2 separate regions of the Homo sapiens genome follow, and region 2 is linked to region 1. Evidence: promoter capture Hi-C in 16 types of primary human blood cells and fetal thymus (Javierre and others, 2016). All regions are on one chromosome and are shown on one strand. Each heading gives the region's core, a stretch centred on a gene start or on the middle of the fragment in contact. The rest is flanking DNA. Distances are from core to core; before and after follow the strand shown. Region 1 holds the start of OLIG2 (oligodendrocyte transcription factor 2). Region 2 has its middle 40 kb from the start of LINC01548.

Evidence for each region. Contacts are between HindIII fragments. The CHiCAGO score rates a contact against its expected background, and 5 or more counts as called.
Region 2: a contact is called between a fragment that was not itself captured here and the fragment with the promoter of OLIG2 in region 1, in 3 of 17 cell types (M0 macrophages, M1 macrophages and megakaryocytes). The highest score is 7.3, in M0 macrophages.

The regions. Positions count from the first base shown.
Region 1 is chr21:33,024,391-33,027,995 of GRCh38, reverse strand. It overlaps OLIG2 (oligodendrocyte transcription factor 2), which reads right to left and starts at 2,061. Exons shown (of 2, transcript NM_005806.4): 1 at 1,970-2,061; 2 at 1-1,195. The coding sequence starts at 1,133. The coding sequence ends at 162. RefSeq lists an enhancer at 1,330-2,232. The HindIII fragment of the contact is 3,945 bases long and covers 701-3,605 here.
Region 2 is chr21:33,128,217-33,131,821 of GRCh38, reverse strand. No RefSeq gene overlaps it. Among named protein-coding and RNA genes, the nearest start is that of LINC01548, 40 kb to the left of the region's middle. The HindIII fragment of the contact is 4,086 bases long and covers 1-3,605 here.

The sequences.
Region 1 (3,605 bases), core at 812-3,311:
GCTTGGGTTCGCAGATGCTGGAATCCCCACCATGCCCCACCCCCAGTCCATGGTCCTGCGCCCCTCCTCGCGACAGAGCTCCCGAGCCCAGCGCAGGCCAGTCCTCGCTTCCCCGCGGCCCCTGGCTCCCCTGTCGCCAGAACGCGCCGGCGCCAGTCGGCTCACTTGGCGTCGGAGGTGAGGCGCGGCAGGCTGCCGGCGCCCATAGCCGACACGTGGTGGTGCGGCGGCGGCACCTGGCACATGCTGCAGGGGCAGGGCATGCCGCCCCAGTGCTGGAAGCCCCCGCTCGCCCCACTGCCGCCGCCCCCGCCCCCCAGCGGGGCGGCCGCGGCAGCAGACGGAGACTTGAGTAGGCCGTGCGGTGGACGGATGGAGCCGACCGACGGCAGCCCGGATCCGGGCAGAGAGGCGCTGGACACAGCCGCGGCTGCAGCGGCGGCAGCAGCCGCTGCGGCGGCGGGCGGCAGGATGGGGTGGTGCACCGCGGGGTGATGTGCGGCGTGCGCTGCTGCTGCCGGGTGCGCGGTGGCGGCGGGCAGGGGCGCGGAGTGCGCCAGGCCGCCGCAGGCCGACGGGTGGAAGCCAGCGTGGTGGCCCCCGTAGATCTCGCTCACCAGTCGCTTCATCTCCTCCAGCGAGTTGGTGAGCATGAGGATGTAGTTGCGCGCCAGCAGCAGCGTGGCGATCTTGGAAAGCTTGCGCACCGAAGGGCCGTGTGCGTACGGCATGACCTCGCGGAGGCCATCCATGGCGATGTTGAGGTCGTGCATGCGCTTGCGCTCGCGGCTGTTGATCTTGAGACGCAGCTGCTGCAGCTCCGGCTCTGTCATTTGCTTCTTGTCCTTCTTGGTGGACGACGCAGCCGCCGACGACGTAGACGACGAGGTGCTGGACGAGGATGACTTGAAGCCACTGCCTCCTAGCTTGTCCCCAGGATGCGCGCCCGCAGAGCCCATAGCGCCGCGCAGCTCGGCGCTCAGCTCCGGCGGGCAGTCACTCGGGGTGGACGAGGACACGGTGCCCCCAGTGAAGGCGCTGCCGCTGCTGCCCTTACTCCGGGCCGGCAGAAAAAGGTCATCGGGCTCTGGCGACGACGGGCGGCTGGACACCAGGCTGGCGTCCGAGTCCATGGCCCCAGGGGAAGATAGTCGTCGCAGCTTTCGCAGGGTCCTCCTTCCCTCGGACCCGAAAACTTCCAGGAGAGGAGGAGAAAAGAGAGAGAATGAGAGAGAGAGAGAGGGAGAGAGAGAGAGAGTGAGTCAGTGAGAGACAGAAAAGCTGCTCCCGCCTGCACCGCAGTACCACAGCGCGGGGTCCCGGCACAGGTGGCCCGTGGCTCCTCGTCCCCCTCGCTACTATCTCTGGCCCTCCTTTTAGCTGCACGCGGGTACCTATAATTAAGCTCTCTCTATCTCCCCTCTGCTCTCATGCAACAGGTTATTTCAGGGAGCGTTGGTGACCCTCGGGGTGCGGGTGGCATTCTAGAGGCTTCGGGCTTTCAGTTAGGTGTGGGAAAACTGAGCCCCCGGGCTGGAATAAACGAGTGGGAAGTGAGGGCCTTTCTTTGGGGAGAATGGAGATCTAGATAGAGAACTAATGATTTGGTTCCTCAAACGGATCCACCTTATCTCCATCGACACCACGCAGCAAACACACGCACACGCACATGCACCCAGAGCCGGCGCGGGGCCCAGAGTCCATGTGCTGCATCTGGAGACCACGGGGAGCTCACCAGCTGACTGGGGCTTGGGCAGAAAGAGCTGTTGTCGCTCCGACTTCTCGCTTTTGGTGAGGGAGATGCAGCGGTGAGTGTGGGGAGGACAGAAGAGCAAAGTCGCTCTGGAGAAATGGCCCGCAGAGTAGGGATCCAGACCCCCTGTATCGGAGCATTCTGGGTCACAGCCGAGTTGAGGAGAGTCTGTCCCTGGGATCTAGGCTGCGGCTGCTGTGGGGCGGGGACACTTACTCTGGATGCGATTTGAGGAGCTCGCTCCGAAAAGCCTCAGGGGAGAACCTGGCACCGGGCGCTGGTGTCGCGTCGATCTATAATAAGCATCCGCACCTTTAGGGGCTCGGCCGGTTTTTATAGCCCGGTGGCAGCGGCGACGGCGGCAGCGGTGGCGGGGGCGGGGGCGGGGAACAATGTGCGTGTCCTGGAGGGGCTGCCTCGCCAATGAGCTGGGCCCGCCGGGGGGCTGGGAAGCTGATGTCATCCGGGCTAATTCCGCTCAATGAAACTCGCCAGGCCGGGCACACGCCTCCTCCCTGCGCACAACCAATGGGCGCCCGTGGCCGGGAGATTCTTGGGGAGGGACTGGAGGAGGGACCCGAGGAGGCGAGGGGGAGGAGAAGGGCGGCTCAAGGGGGATGGAGGGAGGGCTGAGCGCGCTTGGGACCAAGGGAGAAAGGGAACGTGGTCAAATTTCTGTAAAAAATACGGCCACCACAGAGTCAGGTTGGGGGATGGGATGGTTTGGAGACTCTGCAGAGTCTAACAAACTAACCTGATGCCCCACGCAGCCGCACCTTTTGGGATGCGCGCGGAAAACCCTGGCGACCCAGGATCCGGGGCTGGGGTCTCCTCCCTAGCTCTTCCTCTGTCTGGTTTCCCGCCGCCTGTTCCCATCTCACTGGTTTCATCAACACGTGGGCATTTGGCGCCCCAAATGTAAACGATGCCCAGGCACAAAGTCCCCACTATCTTGGTGCTCTACTCGCGCGTCTAGGAGATGGCCGTGGCTGCAGCTCCGACGGCAGCCGGTAGCGCCCCCAGCTGGGGGCAGGGACTTGAGGGGTAGAGGGCGGGCAAGGAGGGAGGGGACGGACTCCAGAAGAGTGTTTTGAAAGAATTCACAACTCTCCTTTAGGTTGAGGATGGTGTGGGTACAGGGACGAGTTATTTCCGCACGGTAACCGCGCTAGCACAAGGGCAGGGTCGTGCCTGTAGTTAAACACCCCTCCATTTATTAGCAGGGGAGCCGGATGATAGTAAGTATTTTCAGTGTCGTCTTTGTGATCACCACACGCCTTGGGGCAGGGGCAACGCTGGCATCTGTAGTCCAAGCAGGGCTCCGCTGTAAAAGGTTAGCAAAGAGCCTTCCGTCCCAGTCGCCTGCTTTCTGGAACTGCAAAGAGAAGTTTCAGGCCTGGGCAAGGCTTCTCCACGCTGTGGGCCAGACAGCGAGATGGAACCACTCGCGACCGCGTTGGGACATGTTTTACCGATTGCAGGCTGGCTCTGAAACCTGAAAACTCTTGACGATGAGGAATTAAGCCCGAACTGGAGAAGCACCTCACGGAGGTAGCTGAGGTACGGATGCATTCACCCATTTTACAGATGGGAAAAGCCAGAGACCGTGTGCAGCAAGCCTACAGAAAAAATTGCTAAGCCTTTACAGAGCAGCCCTGCTTGGACTACAGATGCTGGCGTTGGCGGTTCCTTATAGTACAGGCAGCCACCTGTCTCCCCCAGTCCCTAATCTCTTCCCCGAGCTGAATTTCTCACACCCATACATTTCGAATTCAGACATTTGTTTCTGCAGATCTCGGATGCTAGCACTTGACACTGTGAGCGCACGCGCGGGCACACACGCACACAGTCT
Region 2 (3,605 bases), core at 735-3,234, 100 kb before region 1:
TACAGAGCCTGCTACACTATTCCTTTGATACAGAGAACAGTAAGTCACAGCATATAAGCAAGGGTTAGATGGAGCATCCAGAGGACGATGGCAGGGAACAAAAGAGAAGTCCTGAGAAGGATCGTGGGACCAGACCAGGCTTTGTGGAAAGCATGGGGCTGAACTGTGCCCCAAGGGTGCAGAGAAGGTGGGGAGTGTGTTCCAGGAGAGGGGGCCACCGGAACAATGGTGTGCAGATGGAAACTGGTCCAGCTACTAAACTGAGAGGGACAAAAAGAACAATAGCGTTGACAGGGATACGTGGCAAGACAAGCCTATTTCACCTGGACTTTCCTGCTGAACTCCAGACCTTATGAAAGCTCTGATAACAGCTGGGACATCTGGTCGTGCAATCCGTGGTGAGGAAGGAGAATCCAGGCATTCTTTTAGCCCAGTAGTGAATTCGAGCGATGCCAGAGGGGAGTCATCTTGGCAGTGTGATACTCCCAGGGAGTAGGAGTAGGAGGATGTGGCGTGGCGGGGGCTGTGAGAGTGCCTGTGCAGGCTGCGAGGGGTGCCAGGGTGGCACTGTATACACACTGAAGGACAGGTCCAATAACCAATACGGGGTGTCTGTAGATTCTGAATGCATAGAAAACAACATTATGATTATTACTTTACAGACTGGAGATGGCTTTAATAATATTATATATATTTAACTGTTTCTGGACCTTATGAACATCATGTATGTTAAGGTCGATGAGGGAACCAGGTTTCTCATCAATGAAGAAGGGAGTTACACATGTGGAAGGGAAAAATCCTAGAATAAGCCCTTTGGTGTTGGACTGGAATTGGAAGTGTCAGTGTCAACTCGTATATAAATGTAGCCTAGTTCCGTTCACTGGGAGGGCCTGGGAACAGTGCCACCCGGGAGCAGACAATACATCAGTGCTCAGATCTTGGTTCCTAAAGTCCCCACTTAAAGGAACCCAAACTCCTTGGAGAAATGGTCAATTCCAAGGCTGGATGAGGAGTCAGGGAAAGTACAAGATGAAGCTAGAACGTCTTGTGCCAGGAAGTAAAGAAGGGCTCAAAGAATTATAGGCACATGTCCGGAGAACCCAGAAGCCAGAGTGAAGGAGCTCCTACCGGCCAGAACTGGGATAATTGAGGCATAAAAATGAATAACGATAGGAGCAGAGTATCACCTGATAAGTAAAATAAGTACGCTTGAGTTCCTACCGATATAAACAAACAGATGAATGTATAAGTGGAAAAAGCAGAATTCTAACTAATATGGCGGGGCACAGTGGCTCACAACTGAATCCCAACACTTTGGGAGGCTGAGGTGGGAGGGTTGCTTGAGCCTAGGAGTTTGAGACCAGGCTGGGCAACATAGTGAGACCCTATCTCTACACAAAAATTACTAATTCCAACTAATAAATATTAGGAAAGTGATGGAATTAGAAAATCATTTATTGGCAACCATCATAATCATCCAACGAAGAAACACTGGTGGATATTAAAAACAGTGAGTGAAGTCTGATGAGGAATGGGATATTTGCAAAGGCTCACGTACCTCCCCACAAGATCCTTGTATGTTACAAAGGGGGAAAAAAGTAACTTTACAGCGGAGGCACATGGACAACATCACCTTCATTATTTCGTTTACATGTAAGTCACCAGGACTGGGGTAAATTAAAATTGTGTGCCACTTGGCCAGATACAAGATGAACCCAGCATCACTTCTATGATGATGTTTCTGCCAAAGACATCCCTGACCCTCATAATAAGGCATCACCTGAAAAACCTACACTAAGGAACATCTACGGAATAATTGGCCTATTATTGTCAAAAGTGTCAAGGTCATGAGAGATAGAAACTGTTCTAGATTGAAGGAGACTAAAGAGATGGGACAACTCTGTGTGATGAGCAATCCTGGATTGGGTCCCTTGCCTATAAAAGTTTAGTGAGATTGAAACAACTAGAGAAGTGTGGATGGCATTTGAGAATGAGATGATAGTATGTACCGATGTTAATTTCTTCATTTTGGTGGTTGTATTTAGATCATGAAAGTGGGTGACTTTCACAATCATAGGAGATACACATTAAAGTATTTTAGGGTGATGGGCATCATGTCAGCAACTTATTACTCAAGTGAATTAGGAAAAACAGGTCTTTGCATTATTCTTGCAACATTTCTAAAATTTTAAAATTATTTAGAAATCAAAAGGGAGGCCGGGCACGGTGGCTTACACTTGTAATCCCAGCACTTTGGGAGGCTGAGGCGGGCGGATCATGAGGTCAAGAGATCGAGATGAGCCTGGCCAACATGGTGAAACCCCGTCTCTACTAAAAATACAAAAATTAGCTGGGCGTGGTGGGATGTGCCTGTAGTCCCAGCTACTCAGGAGGCTAAGGCAGGAGAATCTCTTGAACCCGGGAGGCAGAGGTTGCAGTGAGCCGAGATCACACCACTGCACTCCAGCCCGGGCGACAGAGTGAGACTCCATCTCAAAAATAATAATAATAATAATAATAATAATAATAATAAAATAAATAAGAAAAATAAAAAAGAAAAAGGGAAATTATTTTGTAAAAATCTACAAGTTAACATGTAACATCAGAATCTGGGCCCAATAATGAATGGGTCAAGCAAAGGCATATCCCCTGGGGAATGTGATGACCCTGAGTGCTCCAGGCTGGCACTGAAGGGCAGTCCTCCCTTGCTTTATTTCCAAGTGTCAGGCATGTTTTTATAACAGGGTAGAGTTGTCTCTTCTTTTCACATGGATGACCAGATGGTGCTCCCCGAGAGTCGAGAGCTGAGGTTATGTCCATACCTACTGGGGTAGCGGGAACAAGTTGCCTAGAAAAGCCACTGAGAGATCTCTATCTACCTGCAGACTCTGTGTATAGTGAAGACTCGGTATGTCCCCCAAAGTTGAAGAAAAGGCAATGGGTATATTCTGTGGGGTGCAATGTGTCTTACTGGGCAATAGCAACATGGATTATGAACAATAGCTCCCACCTCACCCAGGACACTCGACTCACTGCCATGGGGATTCTACATTTGTTTGGAGAAGTAGAGGTGCAGCTGGAAGAAGAGGAAGTGGGAGCATTATAAAGAGGGTTATAAAAGGTTTTTTGAGCAAGGCAGAGGAAATGAGACTTGATGGAGCAGGCACGGAAAGTCATTGCTGATTCCTGAATAGGGTTCAATATATTGACAATGGCATTGAAAGGGATTAAGAAGCCTGACCCTGAGCAGTCTGCTAGGCTAACCCTTATTTTCCAAGGGAGAGGGGGTGGGCATTGTCAAATTCTCTTGATTAAACAAGTTGATTCAGAATGAATGAATTAACGCATTTTGGTTGTTGTGAGAATTAAATGAATGAACACATGGAAAATCAGCACAGTGCTGAGAACAATACATGTTAGACACAAAAACACATGGGAAGCCCCCAAACTAGAGCTGGGCATATAAGAAGCCACTTCCCAAACGTGCCGAAAAACTCTACCCAACCCAAAACCCAAGCATCTAAAGATACGGCATTGGCCACTTTCTCCACCATCACTAGTGCTGTGGCCTCTTTATTTGCAATGGTGCTTTCTCTCCAAGGAAT